7 separate regions of the Homo sapiens genome follow, and regions 1, 3, 4, 5, 6 and 7 are each linked to region 2. The links are contacts of gene promoters, found by promoter capture Hi-C in blood cells and fetal thymus (Javierre and others, 2016). All regions are on one chromosome and are shown on one strand. The core of a region is centred on a gene start or on the middle of the fragment in contact, and the rest is flanking DNA. Distances in the headings are between cores, read along the strand shown.

Region 1 (3,470 bases), core at 369-2,868, 940 kb before region 2:
TTCTGTTCTTCACAGTGACTGTACTAATTTATATTCCCACCAACAGTGTACGAGGGTTCCCTTTTCTCCACATTCTCACCAACATTCATTATTGCCTGTCTTTCTGATAAAAGTCATTTATTAGAAAGATTGTATCTCATTAGAAGCTTTGGGTCACTGAGCCTGTTTAATGGTAGGTTTCACTCTAAGGTGATTTTCTGATAAAAGTCATTTATCAGAAAGACAGGGGTGAGATATTTCCTTGTTTTGATTTGCATTTCTTTGATGAATAGAAATTTCTTTATATAGTTGTTGGCTATTTGTATGTTTCTTTTGAGAAATGTCTGTTGAGATCTTTTGCCCATTTTTCAATCTGATTTTTTTTCCTGTAGAGTTGTTTGAGTTTCTTATATATTCTGGTTATTAAACCCTTGTCAGATGGATAGTTCGCAAATATTTTCTCCCATTCTGTGGGTTGTCTCTTCAGTTTTTTTGATTGTTTCCTTTGCTGTGTGCAGAAACTTTAGCTCGATGTGATTCAATTTGTCCATTTTGCTTTGGTTGCCTGTTCTTTTGAGACCTTACTCAAGAAATCTTTCCCAGACCTATGAAATGGAGTGTTTCCCCAATATTCTCTTCTAGTAGTTTCATAGTTTCAGGTATTAGATTGAAGTATTTAATCCACTTTGACTTGATTTTTGTATCGTGAGAGAGAGGGTCTAGATTCAGTCTTCTGCAAATGGACATCCAGTTTTCCAAGCACTATTTATTGAAGAGACTGTCCTTTCCCTAATGTATGTTCTGGGTGCCTTTCTCAAAAATGATTTGACTGTAAATGCATGAATTTATTTCTCGGTGCTTTCTTCTGTCCTACTGGCCTATATATTCGTTTTGATGCCAGTATCATGCTCTTTTGGTTACTTTACCTTTGTATTATAATTTGAAACCAGGTAATATGACACCTCCAGCTTCCCCCTGCCCTGGCCTCCCCTCAGGATTGCTTTGTCTATTTGGCTTCTTTTGTGGTTTTACATAAATTTTAGCATTATTTTTCCTATTTCTGTGAAGAATGTCATTGGCATTTTGATAGACATTGCATTGAATGTGTAGATTGCTTCGGGTGGTGTGGGCATTTTAAAAATATTGTTTCTTCCAATCCATAAACATAAAATATCTTTGCATTTTTTTGTGTCCTCTTCCATTTCTTTCATGAATGTTTTACGGTTTTCATTGTAGACATCTTTCACTTCTTTGGTTAAGTTTATCCGTAGATATTTTGTTTTATTTGTAGCTATTGTAAATGGGATTACTTTTTCATTTTCTATTTCAGAAATGCTACTGTTTTCATATGTTGATTTTGTATCCTGCAACTTTACTGGACTGATCAATTCTAATAGTTTTTTTTTTTTTTTTTTTTTTGGTGGAGTCTTTAGGCTTTTTTAAATATAAGATCACATCATCTGCAAGCAAGGACAATTTGACTTCTTCCTTTCTAATTTGGATGAAGGGGCCTAATAACTTTTTATAAAATTTTTTAACCAATGTTTTGTTCTCTGTTCTATGCCTCACCTTGAGAACTATCTGGTACTCTAACTTCTGAACATGTCTTGATTTTATAGTAGGGATTAGATTTCTTCTTATTGGCTTTTCCCATTGCAAATCTAGGTTTCTGATTTATTAACTCCTCTGTTACTGTTTGTTTACGTGTTCAAGATTCAGTTGACATCACTTCTCTCTTTCTTTTTGTGGGATGATAACCCTGTTCCTTTTCTGGTCATTTCAGTTGAGTTTTGATAAGAAGTAATGGTACATTTTGTATATTTAATTCCTGTTTCATCTATTTTAATATTTATTAATTTTTATCTATGTCTCAAATGAAAGTAAGCTGCATGGATTATACAAAATATCCTGTTTTTAAACTTCAATTAATAGCATTTTTACAAAAGTCAATTATGAAAAGCATAGATGTCAAATGACTAAAATTATGCTGAATATAAAATGAATTCTATAATCACCTCTGTACCATGAAATGGCTTTCTTGCACCATTGTTACCTAAAGTAGCAGGAGAAAAAAGGCTTACCATCTCCTTTAATGTAACATGCTTGCTTTGGGCTTATGTTGTAAAAGAATTGCTAAGAACAGACAAGCATTTACATGCAGTGCTGCTGCTGCTGGACTTGCCTCAAAGAAGTGAGAATAAAAATGGCCTAGCAACTATTTCATGCCCATTTGTCCACTGGTCAGTGCAAGCCAAGGGAAACTTACTGAGTCAAAGCTAGAATTTAGAGAGCTTTATTATCTTGCTTTGCTTGTGAACTTGATTTTTCAACACGATTAGTGAATCTATTCTCTGAAAAGTAACATCACGTGGGCATTTTCAGTCTTTCACCAAACAAGCTAGTATGTAAGTGAATTTGTATGAATTTGCATATACTTGTTATTTGTTAGAGCATTTGTACATTGAGTTTGTGCTCATCATTATAAAATTATCATGAGGAATAGTTTTTGTACAGTCATGTGTCACACAACATTTTGGTCAACAATGGGCTGCATGTGTAACGGTGGTCCCACAAGACTAATAGAGTTGAAAAATTTCTGTCACCTAGTGACATCATAGCCTAATCTTACAGTGTAATACATTACTCATGTGTTTATGGTGATGCCACTGTAAACAAACCTACTGTGCTGCCAGTCATATAAAAGTATAGTGTATACAATTATGTATAGTACATTATACTTTATAATGGTAATAAATGACTATGTTACTAGTTTATACTATGTTACCAGTAAATACTAGTATAGTATTTACTACACTATACATTTTATTGTTATTTTAGAGTTTTCTCCTCTAGCTATAAAAAAAGTTAACTGTAAAACAGCTTCAGGCAGGTCCTTCGGGAGGTATTCCAGAATAAGGCATTGTCATCATAGAAGATGACAGCTCCATGCATGTCATTGCCCCTAAAGCCCTTCCAGCTTTCAGTGGGACAAGATGTGGAGGCGGAAGACATGATATCGATGCCTGTCTCTGTGTAGGCCTAGGCTAGTGTGTGTGTATGTTTTAGTTTTTAACAAAGTTCAAAAAGTTAAAAAAGTTGTTTTAAAAAGAAGAAAGCTTATAGAATAAGGATACATAGAAAACATTTTTGTGCAGCTTTACAATATATTTTGTATAAAATACCTTGTATTTGTGTTTCAGCTAAGCATTACTATAAAGGAGTCAAAAAGTTTTAAAACATTAAAAAGTTTATAAAGTAAAAGTTACAGTAAACTAAGGTTAATTTACCATTGAAGAAAGAAACTATTCTAAATAAATTTAGTGTAGCCTAAGCATACAGTATGTATAAAGTCTAAGTAGTGTAATGTCCTAGGCCTTCATATCCACTCACCACTTACTCACTCACACGGAGCAACTTTTAGTCCTGCAAGCTGCATTCATGGTAAGTGCCCTATACAGGTGTACCATTTTTTACCTTTTATACCATATTTT
Region 2 (2,500 bases), core at 1-2,500:
TTCTTTCTTTTATAGAAGTAGGCTTCAAAGAAACAACGAAAGGTGCTAAAACTGGTCTCTGGATGAATCTCTGCTAGGACTTAGAGAAACATGGAGACCTAGTTGTTATCATACAACTTGTCTTGCTGCCACTTGTCCTGTCCCTTCAAGGAGTTATGGTTATCAGGAAAAAAGCCAATTAACAAACTCTGCTTAATTTTTGTGGTGATAATTAATCAACTCTAAGATTTCAGCATAAAATCCCAACACCTTGCCCTGTGTGACAAGACCCTAAGTGCCTTGCTCCTGCCTGGCTCTCCAGCTGCATCTTGTCACTCTACACTCCTTACTCGACTCCAGCCACACTGGCCAAGGCCTGCTGTCTCCAGATCTTGCATAACCGCCTTCACACATCTGCTCGGAGTTCACTTCCAGTCTTCCTATTCCTAGCCCCATGAGCTACTGAACACTTGAAATGTGTCTAGTCTGAACGGAAATGTGCTGGAAGTATAAAATATACACCGGATTTTTATGACTTAGTAGATATAAAAGAAATATCTTATTAATAATCTCATATTGATTGCCTGTTGAAATATTTAAAATATGTTGGGTTATTATTAAAATTAATTTGATCTGTTTCTTTTTACTTTTTTTTTTTTTTTTTTGAGACGGAGTTTCGCCCTTTTGTCCAGGCTGGAGTCAAGTGGCATGATCTCGGCTCACCGCAACCTCCACCCCCACCCCGCCCGGGTTCAAGCCATTTCTCCTGCCTCAGCCTCCCAAGTAGCTGGGATTATAGACGCCCGCCACCAAGCCCAAGTAATTTTTGTATTTTTAGTAGAGACGGGGTTTTGCCATGTTGGCCAGGCTGGTCTTGAACTCCTGACTTCAGGTGATCACCTGCCTCAGCCTGCCAAAGTGCTGGGATTACAGGCATGAGCCACCGCGCCCGGCGTTCTTTTCACATTTTATGTGGCAATTGGAAAATTTAAAATTACACTCATGGCTCACACTGTTTCCATCGGACAGCGCTACCCTATGGCATGACCCTCTTTTGCTGCCCTCCTGGCACTTACATTGTAGAATTTCAGCATCCGGGCTCACTTGGTCAGTGGCCTACTCACCCAAGCAGAATGTACCACAGAAACCTTGCCTGGCTCACCCACACCTGATTCCCAGGCACTCAGGCCAGGGCCTGGAGCATAGTAAGTGCTGACTAAATATCTTTCGAATGAATGACTCTACTCTTCCTCAGCTGGACTCATGAATTCTGTCGGGTCCCAAAATACGTGGTCTAAAGTCCTTTGGGCTCCTGCCGCTGCCAGCACTGATCATATGCTCTTGACCCTGGTCGGGTGGGGGGATGTCTGGATACCTCCTCTGTGGAAAGAACTGGCCACACATCCGCAGAGGTGACTCGGGCTGAGAACCCAGGCTCCTCCTCCCTTTGGTGACACGCCCCTCGGTCCCTCACTGGCACTTCTCCCTCCGGCCACACGGCGGCGTCTCGCCATAGCGCAGCGGCCGATGGTACAGCCCGCTCCCCCCTCGCGCTCTCGGACAGTGGGTCCTTCCACTTGTAGAAAAGCATTGTGGGACGGAAGCCTGTCCTTTCTTCCTTTTGGTGCGAGCTTGCTGTGGTTTTTGCTCTGGGTCCTCTGGGATGGCGCCTGGCTGTGGCCGCGTGGTCTCTCACGCAGGGGCGCCGGGCGGGGGAACGCGGCCACCCTGAGTCTGGTGAGTCGACTGCGGCGGCCTGTGTCCGAAGTGTCCGGGGCCGTGAACAAGGGCAGCGGCCTGGCCTCAGGCCTGCGTTCCCACGTTTGGAAACGGGGAGCTTCGTCGATTTGTGTTTACATCATCGACTATGCCAGGGAGTTCTCCAGATAAGCCTGGTTTTATTTTCGTCAGTGAAAAGGCCTTACCGTATAACTGACTTTATGCTTGCCCTGCCCCCGTATAAAATAACTTAAAAGCAGCGTGCCTGGTTACAGCTGTTTCCACGTGCGGTGCTCGTCGGGAGTGATCACCTACCCTACAGGTGAGTTTTCACGTTCGTGCAAGACCAGTCGCCATTTAAAACGCATCGCATTTCACTTTTCATTATTAAGTCGGATTTTAAATCGTGAGAAAATTTCTCTGAAATGTATTGTCCGTTTTTAGGCTGTAATCGGCATTACTGTCAGCCAGTCAGCAACCTTATGCCATAAAGCCTACCTCACGCAGTGTCAGCCTTTGTGTTGCCCATTCACTTTGGAAACTAGTGAATGTGGTGTCAAAAAAGGCGTAAATTAAACGCTTTGCAGCCTTTTCCTGCCCTTAAATTTGATACCTTTGGTGTAGGAGCTGCATAAGTAACAGTTGCTGCTTTTACGTTTCCACGCGTGATCTTGACCCTGCTAGCCTTAAGTGTATGGTTTCTCTTAGCCAGTTCTAATTTTTGTTCAGGTGGAAGATGGATGCCTGAAGTGTAGACTGCTGCTAGCTGAATACCATCTGGGAGCATAAAGGTGACCTGAAG
Region 3 (3,475 bases), core at 637-3,136, 670 kb before region 2:
AAGAAATTTAGAGTATGAATTGAGTTGGTTGAGAGTAGAATTAAAAAGATTTCTAGCACTTTGAGCATGTTTTAGAAATTTGATCCTTACATTTAAAATTATGTAAATGACATCTTTCACTGGCATTTGCTCACATTTAAGTCAATCTACAGCTGTTACTTACTAAGCTAAGAAATAAGAAGATCCCTATGGTTCTGAATCTCTCATAATATTCTGAAGTAATTTATATCAATTGAATTTTCATTAATCATTTTAGGAAATATTATGTTTTATTTTGTGGCATTATATGACAATGACTTTCTCAACAATAGCTCAGGGAATACGCAAACAGCCAGCTCTTTTATGTAAGAAAGCCATTTTCTAATCCCCACGCTTTCCTGAGTGTTACGTATTTTATTTCTTTGAAAAGAGAGGGCCTTGAGTAAATGCTTTCGTTTGCTTTCCTTACATATTTAGAAATCCAAGAAGGGCCCTTGTCTTAGTCTATTTCTGTCACAGAGAAATTGTTCATTCCAAAATATCCACCTTAAGGGAAGCTAGTGACCGAGATATGGAGAAAAACATAGGCATTCATGACCTTTGTGTTTCCGTTTGACTTTCAACATCTGTAACCAAAAGGTCACAAATGAAATATTTAGTAGAAAGTGCAATATCAATTTATTAGGAGTACCTAAAATTATAACTCTAAATAATATACAGCAATATTATTGCTCTATTATTACAGCAATCAATAATATAATATAGCCACTAGGATACACTCGCTGTAGAACTCAGAACAAAAGATATCAATCTTCTGCCAGTCCGCATCATTATGTGTAGCAGAGACTTTACTGGAATGAGTGAGGGGAAAGATAACAAAATGTAGATTAGGATTCCACATTCTCCCCTGCCCATCTTCTTGATTGCTCAGTTTGAAGACGATCATTGATGGACAAATACTTTAGAAATGAATGAAGTCAATAGCTAATGTTTCTCCCAGAAACTAAACAACATAGTTTAGGGGATATTAGGCCTACATTCTAATCACATTGTAAGGAAGTGATTTTCTAATTTTGAAGCTTCCCAGGAGCAGCCCCCTCCAGGAACAATTTTCCCTGTGAACTTTCACTGAGAAACTATTATATGCCATGGAGGAGTCAAAGATGAATTAAATCCAATGCTATCCTCCAGGAGTGAGCTTTGTAGTTGGAGAGAAAAGCCAACCTTATAGATACAACCTGTACATATATAACCTATGCTGCATTTAGGCAGATGATAAGCCCTAGGAATGGAAAGAGGGAAAAGCTCCCTTTTGCCAGGAATGATGAAGGAAAGCTTTATGGAAACACAGGCTGTATGTGAAAGATGGGTGAATCTTTGCAGGTAGGGAAGAAGTAGGGGGCATGTCTGGCTGAGAACCGGCCTGATCATAGAGTGGAAAAATGAAAGGCAGAGGTGAAGGAAGAATACTAAATGTGAAAGGCTGAAATACACAGGGAAGTGTTGCCAGTGTGCAACAGAATCTCATCTCGTGCAAAATTGAATTAGACTTCCTTACTCCTTCCTTACTCTGGGTAGGTCCATGTGCAGCCTTTCCTCAGAGCATCTAGCCTGACATACTTGGCTCATCTGCTGTGCTTCTAAGCCAAATAAAAATCATCAAACACATCGAAGATATTTTTGGGAGTCACCAGGTTAAAGCAAAGCCTCAGTCACTGAAAGCAAAAACTGAATTGGCCAGGTCTCCACTGACAAAACAGAGTAAATGATAGTATGACAGATAATTTCAAGTTTTCCAAGACTCCAATTTCTGAAAAATGTCTCATGACTCCAAAAAATCACGTACTTCCTAAAATGTTGCCAGTGGAGGACCGAATCAAGGTTATTGCTGACCTCATTTTTTCAACCTTTTCAGTTATTTGACCTGAATAGGCAATCCCCCAGGATTTCTGATTGAATTCTACCTGAAAGTTTAGATTTTAAAAGACAACCTGTAGGAAGCTAAGTCTCAGGCAACAAAATTTAAAACCATCAGAACTTGTTTCTCCAAACATCAACCTGCTCCTGTCAAGTCCTTTTTCATCTCTCCCTTTTGTCCCTTTACATACTGTTTTGTAAGTTCCTTTTGATATCATTTATTGCAGGCAGTATTTTTACATCCATCTTCAAGAAACTTGGGAGACATTTAGACATTTAGTATGTGTACTTTTAGTTGTCTTGCCTCTTTATTTCAGATAATGCCTGTGATTAGTGAATGGCGGCATTATTCCTGAAGACAAATGAAGGAAGATAGGGAGCAAGATTGACTGTCATTTGAATGATGGAAGAGAAGTAGAATTACTGTGAGGTTACAAAAATCGTAAGTTAGCAGACATTGAGAAAGGAAAACTTCCTACTTGGGCTTTTCAGGCTTATGTGACATTATCTGGATGTGTTTTCTAGTCTTTCCTAAAGGAGAAATTTTTATTCCTGGGTTGCTGAAAGCTTTCTGGACTAAAAGGATATAAGCAGCTCAATAGCAGCATAGAGGATTAGATTAATGGAACAGCACTGCATACAGGAAAGCTACATCTCCAATAGTTTAGGCTGCAAGTCAGTAGCCAAACACAAGAGCATGTAAGATTTGGAGGACAAAGTATAAATATTTTAAGTTTACACAACCAAGATTATAGGCTACCTTCCCAACTTCTAATTTGAAGAGCACTGAAAATGGAGCTGTGAACACTTCATTTTTAAAACCTGACAATATGGTGCTATTGACTACTTAATACAAAGATATATTACAATATTTTTAGGTAAATGTATTAAGTCTGGCCTGGGCATAAATGTACATACAGAAAATGTTTGTAGAGAATTCATCAAAATCATGCCCATTTGCTGTTGTAGAGCTACAGTATTCTTCAATGGTGGTGACTGACCAGTGAGTTTCTACTTCTTACAGATGGGACACAACAGTCATGGGCTGTCTCAGCTGCCCAAAGCCTGAGGCAGACCACATGAGAGCTGTGGCTTCTTCTTGGATTCAGGTTGGATAACCCAATTCAGTAATTAAATATGTAAATTTTGGGGGGGGTTGGGGGGTGTTTTCTAGGAACTTGAAGAGTACGTGACATTATAAAAAATGGGTGTTGGAAGACTAATTGTAGAAATTTGACCTGAGGGCCAATGTTACTTGGTGTAAGTTCACTCAGACAGACATGTCAGAACATGCCCAAAGAAGCCTATATCTTGCTGCTGGGAAATGTAAAGCAGTTGGCATGTAGAATACGATAATAAATCATTTAAGAAACCACCAAAACTTTGCATTCTGTGATTTCAAATGTTACCACAATTCAAGAGAGACACCATGGACATTTTTCTTACACCTGAAATGTGCAGTTGAATCACTCCTTGAGTGTTTTCCCATTCTCTCAGATAAAATTATACTTTGAGTTTCATAGCCTTTTTTTTAACACTGAGTGCTCACATATTTTCTGTTGAGTAAAATTATAAAATC
Region 4 (3,497 bases), core at 603-3,102, 920 kb before region 2:
GTGTAATCAGACATTGAGAGTAGTGGGTTATTGCCAGATTGACTTAGCAAGGTTCTTATGAAAACTGTATTGTACAAGGAAGCACACAGATGGGCGTAGCAGAAGGCTCAGGAGCCTGACTAAAGTTTTGTCAAGCAAAGAATCTTTGTCACACAGGGTAGACTAAAAAAATGTTTACTGCCTGCCAGTTATAGGTTCTATCATGACTGAGTTAACCTAACTGGAAATTTTACTAGCCCTATCATGGGAAAGGCTCCAATTTCCCTCTCTGCCAATATCTTCTTGTTTTTTGTCTGTTTGTTTTTGCACCTTCTGAAGCCTATTGAGAGGATGAGGAAGGATTCAGGCAAGTATCTCTGGGAGTCTCCTAGCCGGCGGTTCTTTCCTGTGTTTACAAAGGGGCACTGCTGGGGAATGTCAAGCCTCGTAATGTAAAAAATACTGAAGATATTGTGACTGTATCTTGTGCCTATAGCTGCACGAATGCAACATGCATTCATCTTCACCATTCTTAAGATTCTGACTTAGATTTTTTCAGGAACTTAGAGCTGGATAGAACTTTAAAATTCAACCAGTCCAGTGTTTTGTTTGTTTGTTTTTGTTTTTTTAATACAGATGAAGAAACCGGAGCACAGAGAAGTCACCTGTCTTTTCCAGCCCTTCAAAACTAGTTAGTAGTAGAAATGGAACCAGAACCTTGGTCTTCTGCACTTTTGTCTCTGACGTACTTCCTTTCTTCACAAGTGCCATTTACAGAAAGCTGGGCTTAAACCATTCCCAGCTATTCCTCCTACAGCTTTCCTGAATTATTTCAGAATACAAAATTCTGTATCTCCAAGAAACTATTACAGATTTAGATTTAAAAATATGCACTATTTTCTACCTTGTATGTTTTGCTTACTATTTTTTTTTGCAGAGGATATGTCTTAAAAATTGAAATGCATCAAAAATTATTAAACATTGCAGAATATTTTATACTTGTCTTCATTCCCATTTTGGAGAGTGTTCACCTTGTAAAAAATCTTTGTCCTCAAATGTATTGGAATCACAGTTAAGAATTCTAGCCTTGATGTTGGTTTGCATTGTCTTCTGGTCTATGAGTGATTTGGGGCTGAGATATTCTTTGTCATACCTCTTTGAAGATACTAGTTAAATATGCTAGTGTCCCACTCACTTTTAAAAGCTGACCTATATTAAAATATAACATAAAATAGTCTGGGCGCAGTGGCACACGCCTGTAATCTCAGCACTTTGGGAGGCTGAGGCAGGCGGATGTCGAGGTCAGGAGATCAAGACTATCTTGGCCAACATGGCGAAACCCCATCTCTATTAAAAATACAAAAATTAGCCGGGCATGGTGGTGCGTGCCTGTAGTCCCAGCTACTTGGGGGGCTGAGGCAAGAGAATTGCTTGAACCCGGGAAGTGGAGGCTGCAGTTAGCCGAGATCGCACCACTGCATTCCAGCCTGGGTGACAGAGCGAGATTCTGTCTCAAAAAATTAAAAATAAAATAAATAAATAAATAATATAACATAACATAAAATAAATCCTTTTTTGTTTCTAACTTTCTGACTCTTTCTAACTCCAGGAAAAGTGAACGTTTGAGCAGATGGATTGATGAATATATTGCTAGAATATTTAGCAGAAATGAATATGATGAATATATTGATGGATTGATGAATATATTACTAGAATATTTAGCAAAACTCACATGGAGGTAGTACTTTTATGGGGCTTGCACATGTTACAGGACTAAGCTTACTTTTTACTTTTTTACAGTTGGGGACATATTGATTCCATAAGTTATTTACAAGAGAAATATCTTTGATATTTATTCTTAATTTCAATTAATACTGCCAGCACCCAATTTGCATTAAATACATATTCTTCTCTTTTCTTCTTTACCCCAGTCAGTAATTTCACTGACTATGGTGATAGGCTGTCAAGTAAAGCTTTAAGTTTCTTTAACTGATAAGAAAAATTATTTTAATTTATTGTTGATAATAATAGCAGAAATTTTTATTATTGGTAAAAGGGAAAATTGCAAGTGTTGTCTTTTATTCACATGCCTATATCTAAGCTTGCACTGAAAAATGTGGATACTAATACATTTTCTGCCATATCTTTTCTTCCTTTCTTGGTCTACTTTCTCTGACATGAGTTACAACTACCATGTTCATATTTCTCTCAAACAGCTCTACTTTGACCCCTTCAATTTGGTTTTTTATTCTCATAATTCCATTAAATAGCAGCAAATGAGTTTCACTTGACTTCTCCAACTGATTCCCTGATCTAATATTTTAAACCTGTTAACTGTGTGTAAATTTGTTGATAATACAGATTGCCTTAACTTTTTGAAAGTGGTAAGATGACTGCTGTGTGTGCCATAAAATGCTGCGCATTCATGGACAAATTTTCTGATATAAACAAAACTTAACACAAAACTGTTGGGTGTGTACGTCATAATCATGTGAACAAACCTATCAGCCACAGGAGTAAATGGTTCTCACAAATGACTGCAGTTTGTATAACTTGTGTTCAGCCAAAGCATGTTTCTATTTTTATTCTTCTATAACCATTTATAGAAAGCATTGATGTTAACATTATTTTTCTGCCAGCCACCATATAGAGCAGGGATTTCTAACTTTAATCCATAGATCTTCCTGTGACTAGGTTTTGGGACTATATGAAGCTTCTGAAATTGAAAGCTATATTTTATGTGTGGACGTGTTTTTCTGAAGCAAGTCACCACAGCTTTCATCGAATTCTCGAGATGTTTAAGGAGCACTGATGTTTGAGGTTTGTTCACATAAATGTATTTGTACATATTCTCAGAATAGCTGGAAAGCACAAAGCTTGTGCTCACCTATTCATTTAACACACTTTTTCTTTCGCCACTGCCCTGCCCAGTCTGTCTACCCCCAAGAAGGGCTTTCTGTATTCTTATATTCCCAGTTTTTACTGCTTCTATGTTCCCTTTTATCAGTTAGGATGCTTTAATGTACAAATGTAATTTAATAAGTAAATACTGAAGCACCAAAAGAAACCTAGCTGAGATCATCTTAACCAATGGAATAGATTTATTGGCTCAAGTCACTAAAGTCCAGAACTTTTTCAGGTTTTACATGCAGTTCGACTTGGTACAGATTTATTTCTCTGCATTTATTTTAGCTTTGCTCTCCCAGGTGTGTTGGTTTTGTTTTCATACCAGCTTCCCTCATGGTAGCAAAATGCAGCATTTAAGTCCTCCTACTGGCAGCCAACCATCATCATCCAGGACAGTAAGGATCTTTACATCCTCCTATTGTTTAATGAAGCAGAATCCACCATCCTGGCCAGGGGGATGTCTGTACACTAATTGACCTAGGCCCAGATTACCACCACACCTAAACAAACCAGAGACAGCAGGGATGAGGTTACAATTGTTGGTTTATGTCATTCAGGGTCTACTTTTAGGACTTTGGCAACCCCAACTTTTGTGAGTGTGTGTGCATGCT
Region 5 (3,744 bases), core at 1,209-3,708, 820 kb after region 2:
ACACCATGTGAGAGTTTGGGGACTTCCTGGCCTCTAAGAGCCCAAAAGGGGTTGTATAGCTGCCCCTAAACTGGGAGACTAGAAAGCTAGTAAGAAGAATTCCTCCAGGTGCTTCAGCAAGTGCTTGGTAACCTGCTTGTTTCTATTAATATACCATTGGCCCATGTGGGTGAGCACCACTTTGCCTTGAACTGTTGTTCCACTGCCATCATTTAGAATACTCTAAAAACTAGACTTGAGCTCTAAGTGAGACAACTAAGAAAACCACTATGGTGCCTCCCAGTCAGAGAAAAGACATTCAGTCAGAACAGGTAGAATGCACACCCAGCAAAATAGAACTGAAGGGGCTCACTCTTACCTTTACCAATCCATCCACTACACTGGCTGGAGGTCCAACTGCTAGTATCTGCATTTCTTTGCCGTAGGACTTTTTCTGGCCACCAGAGCCCATCTTGCTGCCCATGTAGCAGGCTAGAGTGCAGACCCCAGGAGCTGCCTTCAACCAATGAAGGAAGTTGGTATATAAATCCCCATCTCCCTCACCCCTTGAGTGGGATAACTCTGAGGTATATGTTTTATACTGGCCACCAGAGTTCTCCAGTGACAGTAAGCTCCAGTTAACCACAGTGCTAATTTCCTTGATAATAAACCTTTTGGCTTTCCTCCCCTCCTTGACTCACTTTCCTGCTCTCCTACCAATGTTTCCCAAGATCACCTCCCTCACAGGCTATCTGCACTCAAAATCTTGTCTCAGTGCCTGCTTCTTAGGAAATCTAAAATAAGACTTGGACTGTGCTGGGAGTACTGAATAAAGCAAATGGAATACTGCAGCCTGTGCTTCTGTACTGGACTCCCAGAATACATGAAGCTGTGCCTGGAAGCATTTTCTCTTTAGGGAATTTCATCAGCAGAAAGAATTACGTACAGATACTGATACCATGTGTTTCCAACCAACAGCTCAGCCAGATCATCCTACAGTGAAGCTCTCAGGAAACAAGTACCATCTACAAGGTGAGAGCTTCCAATTAGCTTTCAAGGCACTTGACTCCAGGTTAAGGCCTTACTCTTAAGTGTGAGTGAATAGTCAAGGACTACAGAGGCTTCTAATAGGATAGATGAGATCAAGATAATAGCAAAAAGCAGCTGAGAGGAATAAGACTACTCAGGGAGAAGAAAACGTCAAAATCTATTATTAATATCCTCAGAAGGATAAAATAAAATATACAAAGCAAGAATGTGACACCACAAGAAAGGGGCATTTGAAGAACAAAACAGAACTCTAAATAAGTAAAAACTCTGTAGTTGTCAGGAAGATAAATTTGAGGAATTCTCCAAGAAAGAGGGGAAAAAAAAGATGGAAAACGGGAGCAAAATAGATGGTGACGGGCCTCTTATGCCAAAGGAACTTGGGCTTGATCATACAGCAGAAACTGAAAAGATAACTTGTTCCTATCTGAGTAAAACAAAACAAAATGTAGGCAGTTGCACAGGCCAAGAATGGAGGCAGAGTCAGTGGTTAGGCAGCTCTCACTGTAGTATGGAGAAATGATGCAAAACTGAAGTACACAGTGGCATGTGACAAATTTAGACAAAAGATGGGAGATTAAATGGTAGAACAGACTAAACTTGTGACGGAGCAGGTGTGTGTGGGCCTGTGGGTCTGATGTAAGAGGAAAAAGAACAGATGGATCTAGTTTCTCCAAAGATCCCAAATGGATTGGTCTCCATTAAGCAAGACGAGGAATGAATAAGGACGAGCAGGTGGGGATTGCTTTGTGCAGAGGGTGGAATACAGATCAGAGTTCAGCTTAAATCAGTATTTTCTAAGATTTTGCTAGGTGCCAGATACTGAGATAAAGTCCTTGTCTTCATGTTTGGAACCAGGTGCCTAAGGAAGCACAGAGGAGAGCCACCTCCAAAATGGATACCCTCTCCAAGGGTTTGTAGTGAAAGAGGCACAGCTCTTGGCCTGGAGTTGGTGGGGGCTGCGATAAGTGCAAGATACTTGGTGACAGGAATCGCGAGCATACTCTTGTGTTGTACGGATTCTCAGGGTCGGCCCTGCAGAGGAAAGAGCTCAGTCACCGCGAGGTCCTGCACAACATGCCAAAGTCCCGGATATGTGTCCGGGGTCTACACCTAAGCCCCGACCCCTCTGAACTTCCCAGAAGCGCGCAGGAGGCATGGTGCGCATGCGTGTAGCCACCTCAAAGGCGGCGGGAAGTTGGTTTTCTGAGTAGCAACTGAGCAGCTTGAAGACGGATTGGAAGTAGCAGACCAATAAACAAACGTCTCATTGGCTTAGAGTGCTTAGAGTCCCAATTCTTCAGCTTCCCATTGGGCCTTTCAAGCGAGCAGGGGCGTGACTCCGGGGGCTCCGCCCCGAGCCTTGGCCCAGTCTTGGGGTCCAAGGCTGAGGGAGCGGGACGGAAGTGAGCGGGTCCCGCCCCTTCCCCTTCTCGTCTCCGTTGGAGTCGTCTCTGCCGCGGCTTCCTCGGCTGCCAGCTCTCCGGCGAGCCGGAGTCCTAGTGCCGTACCGTCAGTCCCCGGCCGCGCGGAGCCGGGATGCACTGTTCCTGCTGTGGGTCCTCATCATGGAGACCAAACGGGTGGAGATTCCCGGCAGCGTCCTGGACGATCTCTGCAGGTACCGCGCTACCCGACCCCCTTTCGCCCCCGTCGGGTTTTCTCAGTTTCGCGGACCCCCAGAGGCCTCTGGGTCTTCTTCCCCGCCCACGTCCATGTCCTCGCTTTCCGCTCCCGCCGCTGCTCGCTTTCCATCGTCGACCCTGCTCTCCGACGACACCGCCCCTCTTTCCGCCGCAGCCTCCCTGTTTCTCAAGGCCCTCCGTCCTTCCCCGCAGAACACCCGGAATTTCCTCATTTTTTAAGTTACTCAACTATTTTGCTTTCCCGCAGGCGTAGCCGCTTCGCCGGAGCCTGGGTCTTAGCGTTTTGCCGCCGCCGCCGCCTCCCTCTCCCATTGTTTTTTCTGCCTCTGTGACTTTTCCACGCCGTGCACCCCCTCCTCCCTGTGTCTCATTCCCCGATTCTGAAGGAAGACCCCCAGGGTAGTAATTTAAGGCTTAGGATCCCAGGTACGCGGACCTGCGCAAGGAGCAAATTTTCGGACTTATTCTGACGCCTGCGTGTTATTTGTCCGTGGCGTTCTCTGTAAATTCCTGTAAGGAATTACTTTTTTTTTCTCATCCCTGGACTTGTCTTTGGGGGAGAGAGGGAAAAAGTGTAGCGCTGCTTTTCTTTTTATCCTTAATAATCCTATTTTAAAGGAAATTCTCAACCGCGGGGTTTTAACTCAGGGTGTATACTTCAGATGAGAAATTTTCTGCATTCTTCCCCCTTGTCAACTCTGATTTCAGATAGCCAAACACGTGTAGGATACTTAAAAATGCTTATTTTCCGAAGGTAAAATTTGGAGTGCAGTGATACCCGGAGTTGTCGCCAAGTGTGTGTGGATTGTGATTACAAGTGATAACACCTTTTCGTTCACAGTTACTGTGTTTATGTTTTAAAAGGCAGGCTTTTAGTAGTTGTATCTCCTTCATGCAGTTTTTTTTAATGGAAAGTAAAGAACTGGTGTTTGTGGAGTTTTTTGGGGTTTTTTTTGTTTGTTTGTTTTTTTGTTTTTATTTTTTGAGACGGAGCCTCTTTCTTTTGCCCAGGCTGGTGTGCAGTGGTGCGGTCTTGGCTCACTGCAACCTCTGCCTTCCGGATTCAAACGAG
Region 6 (3,721 bases), core at 1,096-3,595, 630 kb before region 2:
CTGTAGAGATGGAGAGAGAATCACATTCCATCTCCCTTTTGTTAGAGGAGAGAAGAGAAAGTAACTTCCAGATAGAGACCAAGTCTCCAACTGGTCTAAACGTGGACTCTATTCTTCTTCCTATAATACTACAAAGTGTTCTCTATAAATGAAACTTCTCAGAGGCTTTTTAAAAAATGTGGTAAACTATATAAAACATAAAATTCACCGTTTTAACTATTTTTAAGTGTACAACTTAGTGGTATTTAGTACAAAGTTGTGCAACCATCACCACTATCCATTTTCAGGACTTTTTCATCATCCCAAATAGAAACTCTGTGTGCTAGTTATTAAACAATAGTTCCCCATTCCTCCTTTCCTGAGGGAGGGTTATTTTTAAGCTGTTTTGGTGCCCATAAAGTCGGTGGCTATGTTCACACCTCTTTTTAAGCACTTTAACATTTCATTTATTTAAAGAATATTTACTAGGCAACTCTACTGAATGAAATATTAGGAATAGATTATCCAATAAATACCAATTCTTTTCGCAAAGGAGCTTGCAATGAATTGAGAAAGAGACATAAATAAATGATGTCAGTGCAGTGTGGTGAATGCTATGATAGAGAAAGGCAAAAAGAAAACTGGCAAGAGATCTAGCTTTTGTAGAACACAAACTGTCAGACTGCACCAAGTACTCACCCACTTTGTTTCTCTTCACAACAGTCCTGTGAAGTGGCTACCATTATCACATTTTACAGGTAAAAAATCTGAAACCTCAAATGATCATGCAAGTTGCCCATGGATACTCAGGGTATAGTTTAGAGAGGTCAAGCACTAAACAAATAAGGAGTTATGGGTTCTTAGCCAGGCATGGTGGCACATGCCTGAGGTGGGAGGATCTTTTGAGCACAGGACCTGGAAGCTACAGGGAGCTATGATCGTGCCACTGTACTCTAACCTGGGTGACAGAGCAAGATCTTGTCTCAGGAAAAAAGTTATGGATTCTAATCCATCTAATCCAGACTGTATAATTGACAAACTTCGTGCATTTAGGTTTTTTCCTACAGTTCTGTGGGCCTAATTTCCCTCTATAGAATGGCAGAGCTATACTACTACAAGACGCCTTAGGATTTTTTTCTTCAAGAAGATGGGAAGGAGTGAGTGGACATTGAAGAGTTCTCATCACAGATCTAAAGAAGAAACAAACTGAAGAAAATTCTGCACCTTTAGACTCAGTGTCAGGAGTACCCCAGAACAGAGATCCCATTATGCTGAGTGGAGTGGGGCTTTGGGATCACAGATATGAGACCTCTAAATAAATCTCAGGCATTAAGAACTGCTTTGGAGACAGGCTGGACTTGGTCTGATAAGTTAATATCTTCCACAAAATTTATGTTTTCTGCCTAAATTTTTCGTTATTCTTATTCCCTATTAAGACAGTTAACCAGCTCTACTTTCTAACCCCAGGGAAGGACTGTAGCAGGGTGATTTGTACTCAGAGCTACTTGCCTCACAGACTGTATGCAGGGAACAGAGGGAAATGCAGTACAACAAGAGTGAGAATGTAGATCTTAAATAAGAGTCTTCCAGACTGGGAGGGAGAGAGTAGAAGGCAATGGATGGGATTCTCAGAAGCAGGATCTGAATCCTGGTACTGCCAATGAAGTAGAGGTGAAAAATCTTCAGATACAAATGCACACAAGGCTGCTGTAGGCAGGCAGGATGGTAGCCTCACAGATGTAGCAAATATGTCTAGATCTAGATCTCCACAAATACATAGTAAAATATGATGTTTCCAGGTCTTCACCAATGCTGTGCTTTCTGCTTGGAAAGGTCCCCTCTGTTTGTCTATTTGTTGACTCTCTATTGTCAAAGCAAAATTGTACCACACAAAGTGAAACAGGCAAGGAAGACTTTCTTCAAGGCTACTGCAATAGGGAGTGAGACCAGAACGAAGTCTGAACTCAGGAGGTATTTTAAGAGCTGAGGTGAGCTAGTAGAAAAATACTGGAGGATGTTTGAAGGAGATTTATCAATGGGATATGTCTAGCAAATTGAGTTATTTAAGTTTGCAAATGGTTTTCTTGGTGATTAGTTCACCCGAGCTTACTAATTGTCTCCATGGAAGTTAGGCTCTTATTCTCCCACAGAGACTGGAAGATAGGGCACAGTTTCCTTGATGATTACATTTCAGTGGAATGGCTCCAAGGTCCTTGAGAAGGACAGTTCTGAGTTGTACAATTGGCAAGGGGCTTTTTAAAAGATTTATATCTCAAAGGGGGCAGATAAATAACTTACAAATATTCTAAAGTCAATGTTCTAAGAAGGAGAGGTCAAGGGCCTAGAATCAGAAAGAAACATGTCTAAAGTTTAGTCAAGCTGAAGGGAATATTAAAGCCATCTTGTAAATTCCATCTTTAGTCATAGAAAATGTGGCCCACTTTCTGATTCTCTTTCCTTCTCCTATACCCAATATTGTATTCCAACATCTACAGAAACTCTGATTCTTGTTCATACATTCAACTCCAATGTATGGAACTAAACTGCAAGTATCAATTTATATATTTAAGACATTTAAGGAAGAGACAATGTCTTTTTTCATCACTTAGTTCAATGATGATTGCATGGTTGAAAATGCAGAATAAATATTTGTTAAAATAAACTAAATCTTAGTAACTTATACAGGCTATTTTGACTACTCTCACTATTCGACCTTTCCGTGAAACTGGCCAATTTTATCACTTTTCCCCCATCCATCTATCACATATAACTTGTTTTCCTGTTTGTTTGCTTTGTTTTGTTAATTTGAATAGTTTACAAACGTCCTTAATTTAAGTGACCAGAATTCTAATGTTATGTACTACTACTTAGTTTAAGCTCAGTTCAAAGACTGGGTGATTTTTGGCCAAATTCTCACCATTGTGACAGTAAGTTTTCTACTTTCTCTTTTAGTAACACCCATGGATGGTAAGAACAAAGAAGAACCTTCATGAGTGCTTTGATGGTAGCTCCTGGAAAAGTAGTTTGAGTAATAAAGTAGCTCCCAATTGCTCATCAGCTGAAAAACCAACTGCCCTTTATATAGTTCTACCATTATTTCTATACAGGCAGAGCCTTTGTTTTCACATGGTGAAGGAAAACCTTGAAGACATGGTTTGCATTGATTTCAAATTCCTCTTAAAATGACTCTAACAGGAGGAAATATTCTTTTGGTCTGAGTTATTCTGAATTGTATCTGTTTTGATTACATCTACCAGACAATTTTAGTTAGCTCTTAGCAGTAATCTTATTTAGCCATCCAGATGGCTGAAAATACCATGCCAACATCCTTTTCCTATTGTATTGTTGACTAGACACAGCCTATTACCTTGAATTTCAGTTGGCTCACAAGCACACCCAAAACATGGAGTATAGTGTAGTTGATATTTTATATCTGCCAAGTGCTTTATTCTATTCCTGAGATTAATTTTAGCAATTGTGGACCGACAGTTATCCTTGTTGGTCACTAGACTAGTGTTTTGTACACAGCACCAATGGTTTATTATATGAATCTCTTCACATAAAAGAGTTAATATGTGTCTTCAAACTCTTATTGGCCAATTCTCAGAAAGTCAGTTATGTCCAGACCACCAGATGACAAGAAAATAGCATCATATACATGTCTAATGATAAAGTGCATTTAAATTCATTTTGTTCTTGCTAGAACATAAGAACAATTTCTAAGTACAAAGAGGGTAGGTTT
Region 7 (3,530 bases), core at 32-2,531, 690 kb before region 2:
TTTATTTTTTGAGACAGAGTCTTGTTCTGTTGCCCAGGTTGGAGTGCAGCGGCGCCATCTCTGCAACCTCCACCTCCTGGGTTCAAGCTATTCTCCTGCCTCAGCCTCCCGAGTAGCTGGGATTACAGGCACCTACCACCATGCCTGGCTAATTTTTTTGTATTTTTAGTAGAGACAGGGTTTCACCATGTTGGCCAGGCTGGACTCAAACTCCTGACCTCAGGTGATCCACCTGCCTCGATCTCCCAAAGTGCTAGGATTACAGGTGTGAGCCACTGTGCCCAGCCCCAGAGCTCATCTTGATAGGCAACACTGAATGTGACATTTCCAGCCAGCATGGACAGAGAATCCTGTTTACTTGCATTCCAACCCCTATCCCAGAGAATGGTATGGTGTCCTCATCCCCAAGGCCTTCCTCAAGCAGCCATCAGCATTAATCAAGAAGCTCCTTCTTCAAGTACGCTGCTGGCACCTGCCGCACTTGTGTTCAAAATCAAGAAAGGCCACTCTGGACAATAGGCCTGAGCTCTATTTCTCCATAGATGGTGGGGCTCTTACTTTCCCTTTTCTTCTGTTGTTAATTAGGCAAACAAATAACACCCTTAGTACTCAGGGAAAGTGCCTGGATCCAGTTAATTACCCATTTTCACAAATCTAAGGTAATAAAAATATAAAAGATACTGCTATTCTCCACACCAGGGCTATTTTATGGCTGAGAAAGCCTTCCTTTTTCACAACAGCGGGCAGAACTAATACAAGCTGCTTCACTGTGCACAGATAAGTTCCCCTTTCTCAGTTCATGACCTCAAGCTGATTGGGATCAGCTGCTCTCTGGAGACCTACATGCATCTCTCAATGCCAGGACATGTGCCAGGACACCTCCTAGCTCCTGCTGCAACCGTCTAGACTAGATACTTGTCAACCCTCCTCACCACCTACACTGGTTCCCACCCTGCACACTGTCAGACCCACACACTCGCTGACACACCCTGCTCCCAGCAGGTCTAGATCTCAAGGCAGCATGCTTGTGACTTTTTTCTCCCTTGTTATGCTTAACTTTCATTTCTTTGTTTTCTATGTACAAAACTCCCTTTGAAGTATTGCGTCTTTTGTAGCATACATACAGCTCTATCTACTTGATTTGAGCAGTATCATGATATTCTGACATAGAATATTAAAGTTAATAGTGTTATTTTATGCATCCCAAAACAGATAGACTATAATCTCTCCTACTAAAATAGACATAAGTATTTATAGCTTCATACTGTGGTTTGGGGAGAGAAGATTGGTTATAAAACTGTTCAGAAATTGTTTTGATGAATTTATTTCTTTCCCATTGCTTGATATTAAAATATAAATATTGACTAAGCTCTAATTTAACACAATTTTCACTTTTTCTGCAGCACCTGAAATTCTTAGAGGTTGTGCCTATGGACCTGAGGTGGACATGTGGTCTGTAGGAATAATCACCTACATCTTGTAAGTGAAGAAAAGCAATATTTATGTAAACTATTTACCTTGCTGTGACATTTTCTAGATACCTCTAATGCTCATAAAAACCATAAAGATTACTTTTTGCCTTTTTGTGATTTTCTGTTACATACTAAATGCAGTTAGTGATAGAATTTCCTGAAAATGAACATTGCTTTTTATTTTGGAATTTTCTTGAGACCGGAATTCTTGTCCAGGGCTTTCCTATGTCTATATCCACTATGTAATATACAGCAGATTTAGGGAACAGTTTATTACTTGACACTAGTAAAGAATATGAGCCCAAGACCAGCTGTGTAAACTTGCTCTTGTTTTACTTATTTGCATCTTATATGAAATTATTAGATTTAGTCCTTTTAAATGGGCAAATGACTATTTAATTTCTTAAGCAATTCCAAACTGGTATATTTCTTATCAGGAATATTTTAAATGCATTTTTAGCTATCAATTTTGTTTCTTATTTCTGTTAGGTTTTCAAGGGTCTTAAATTTAACACCCTACACAAATTTCTTGGGAAAAAAAATGAGTGAAATATTTTAATCCCTGGTATCCCCACATCCATTCCTGAGCTCCTGTCTAATAAGAAATAAGGAGTTTCATGAAATTTGCCAAAGACATGGTGGAACTGCAGGTGGTGATGAAAAAAATCAACCAAATAGAAGAGCGTCTGAGATGGAAGAATACTGTAGAACAACTAGAAAATAAGATATCGATGCTTTCAAGAGTTTAGTTCAAAACAAGGAGACTTAGTTGCCATTTAGAGAGTACTACAAAGTTAGTTGTTGGAATGCATAATATTCCAATTTAGAGAAATTTTGAAGGGTTTGAAAGTAGGTATACTAGTCTACCTGGGCTTACATAACAAAATATATAGACTGGGTGGCTTAAATAACAGAAAGTTATTTTCTCACAGTTTTCGGGGGCTGGAAGTCCAAGACCAGAGTGTCAGCACAGTCAGCTTCTGCTGAGGGCCCTCTCTTGGCTTGCAGATGGCCGCCCTCTCACGGTGTCCTCACATGATGGGGAGAAGGAGAAAGCAAGCTCTGTGTACTCTTTTCTTATGAGGGGACTAATCCCATGAGGAAGACCCCACTCTCATGACCTCATCTAAACCTGATTGCCTCCCAAGGGCTCCATCTCCAAATACTATCTCATTGGGAGCTGGGGCATCAACATATGGATTTTGGGGTTGGAGGGGGGAATACAATTCAGTCCGTAGCAGAATGCTTTTAATTAAAGTTGTTTTTAACTTAATAGTGATCTTAAAAAATTCAATATCCAGGTGATATGGACTAGGAATGGGCTAACTGTGGTAGGGCCCACAAGCACGTTAGCAAACTCTAATTTACCTGATATACAATGGTTGATCGCCAAGACAGAAAGGTTTAACAAGCAACTGATAAAATAGCCATCCACTAATATGTAATACAAAAAGATATTTTGTGTGCTCAATTCCTTGTGTCTTTAGAAAAGCTTGAGAGGGGCCGGGCACAGTGGCTCACACCTGTAATCCCAGCACTTCGGGAGGCCGAGACGGGTGGATCCATGAGGTCAGGAGATCGAGACCATCCTGGCTAACGTGGTGAAACCCCGTCTCTACTAAAAATATAAAAAATTAGCAGGGTGTGGTAGTGGGCGCCTGTAGTCCCAGCTACTCGGGAAGCTGAGGCAGGAGAATGGCGTGAACCCAGGAGGCGGAGATTGCAGTGAGCTGAGATCTTGCCACTGCACTCCAGCCTGGGTGATAGAACTCCGACTCAAAAACAAAAACAAAACAAAACAAAACAAAAGAAAAAGAAAAGCTTGAGAGGAATTTGGAGAGATAAAGATCCTGTTTTTGTCCCCAAAATGTAGGTTTGCCCCTAAAGTATAAATATACCCAATTTAGGTACCAGTGTACCAACAATTGGTAGGTACATTGTTGAAATGTACTGGGAGGCATTAAGTATTAATGATATGAAAGAACTTGGAGAGATGGAAGTAGGAAATTAAGTTACATTTACCCAGAAAAATTGGAATGTGGAATGCATAAAACTTAA

Evidence for each region. Contacts are between HindIII fragments. The CHiCAGO score rates a contact against its expected background, and 5 or more counts as called.
Region 1: a contact is called between a fragment that was not itself captured here and the fragment with the promoter of EPB41L4A-AS1 in region 2, in 1 of 17 cell types (fetal thymus). The highest score is 6.2, in fetal thymus.
Region 3: a contact is called between a fragment that was not itself captured here and the fragment with the promoter of EPB41L4A-AS1 in region 2, in 6 of 17 cell types (M1 macrophages, erythroblasts, M0 macrophages and 3 more). The highest score is 8.1, in M1 macrophages.
Region 4: a fragment that was not itself captured here is called in contact with the fragment with the promoter of EPB41L4A-AS1 in region 2 in 1 of 17 cell types (fetal thymus); the score reaches 5.2 in fetal thymus.
Region 5: the fragment with the promoter of DCP2 here is called in contact with the fragment with the promoter of EPB41L4A-AS1 in region 2 in 7 of 17 cell types (naive B cells, activated CD4 T cells, naive CD8 T cells and 4 more); the score reaches 8.2 in naive B cells.
Region 6: a contact is called between a fragment that was not itself captured here and the fragment with the promoter of EPB41L4A-AS1 in region 2, in 16 of 17 cell types (megakaryocytes, total B cells, fetal thymus and 13 more). The highest score is 12.8, in megakaryocytes.
Region 7: a fragment that was not itself captured here is called in contact with the fragment with the promoter of EPB41L4A-AS1 in region 2 in 2 of 17 cell types (M0 macrophages and erythroblasts); the score reaches 5.7 in M0 macrophages.

Annotation. Positions count from the first base shown.
Region 1 is chr5:111,218,723-111,222,192 of GRCh38, forward strand. No RefSeq gene overlaps it. Among named protein-coding and RNA genes, the nearest start is that of CAMK4, 3.9 kb to the right of the region's middle. The HindIII fragment of the contact is 2,949 bases long and covers 145-3,093 here.
Region 2 is chr5:112,159,276-112,161,775 of GRCh38, forward strand. EPB41L4A-AS1 (EPB41L4A antisense RNA 1) reads left to right here and starts at 1,251. Exons shown (of 3, transcript NR_015370.2): 1 at 1,251-2,020; 2 at 2,428-2,500. SNORA13 (small nucleolar RNA, H/ACA box 13) reads left to right here and starts at 2,210; the gene lies at 2,210-2,342. It also overlaps a transcript of EPB41L4A not described here. RefSeq lists enhancers at 1,118-2,317, 1,136-1,345, 1,218-1,950, 1,726-1,825, 1,846-1,895 and 1 more. The HindIII fragment of the contact is 7,805 bases long and covers 1-2,500 here.
Region 3 is chr5:111,491,610-111,495,084 of GRCh38, forward strand. It overlaps CAMK4 (calcium/calmodulin dependent protein kinase IV), which reads left to right. Exons shown (of 11, transcript NM_001744.6): 11 at 1-3,277. Among named protein-coding and RNA genes, the nearest start is that of STARD4-AS1, 19 kb to the right of the region's middle. The HindIII fragment of the contact is 1,149 bases long and covers 1,313-2,461 here.
Region 4 is chr5:111,243,368-111,246,864 of GRCh38, forward strand. All of the region lies in intron 1 of CAMK4 (calcium/calmodulin dependent protein kinase IV), which reads left to right. Among named protein-coding and RNA genes, the nearest start is that of CAMK4, 21 kb to the left of the region's middle. The HindIII fragment of the contact is 195 bases long and covers 1,756-1,950 here.
Region 5 is chr5:112,974,340-112,978,083 of GRCh38, forward strand. It overlaps DCP2 (decapping mRNA 2), which reads left to right and starts at 2,459. Exons shown (of 11, transcript NM_152624.6): 1 at 2,459-2,647. The coding sequence starts at 2,595. It overlaps LOC105379126 (a long non-coding RNA gene), which reads right to left and starts at 446. Exons shown (of 2, transcript XR_948679.3): 1 at 359-446. RefSeq lists enhancers at 1,950-1,999, 2,030-2,109, 2,125-2,884, 2,420-2,469, 2,540-2,629 and 2 more. The HindIII fragment of the contact is 6,686 bases long and covers 1-3,744 here.
Region 6 is chr5:111,533,077-111,536,797 of GRCh38, forward strand. The region is part of intron 1 of STARD4-AS1 (STARD4 antisense RNA 1); the gene reads left to right. It overlaps LOC124901042 (a long non-coding RNA gene), which reads left to right and starts at 233. Exons shown (of 2, transcript XR_007058899.1): 1 at 233-3,721. The HindIII fragment of the contact is 7,282 bases long and covers 1-3,721 here.
Region 7 is chr5:111,471,908-111,475,437 of GRCh38, forward strand. CAMK4 (calcium/calmodulin dependent protein kinase IV) reads left to right here. Exons shown (of 11, transcript NM_001744.6): 8 at 1,404-1,479. Among named protein-coding and RNA genes, the nearest start is that of STARD4-AS1, 39 kb to the right of the region's middle. The HindIII fragment of the contact is 3,362 bases long and covers 1-2,962 here.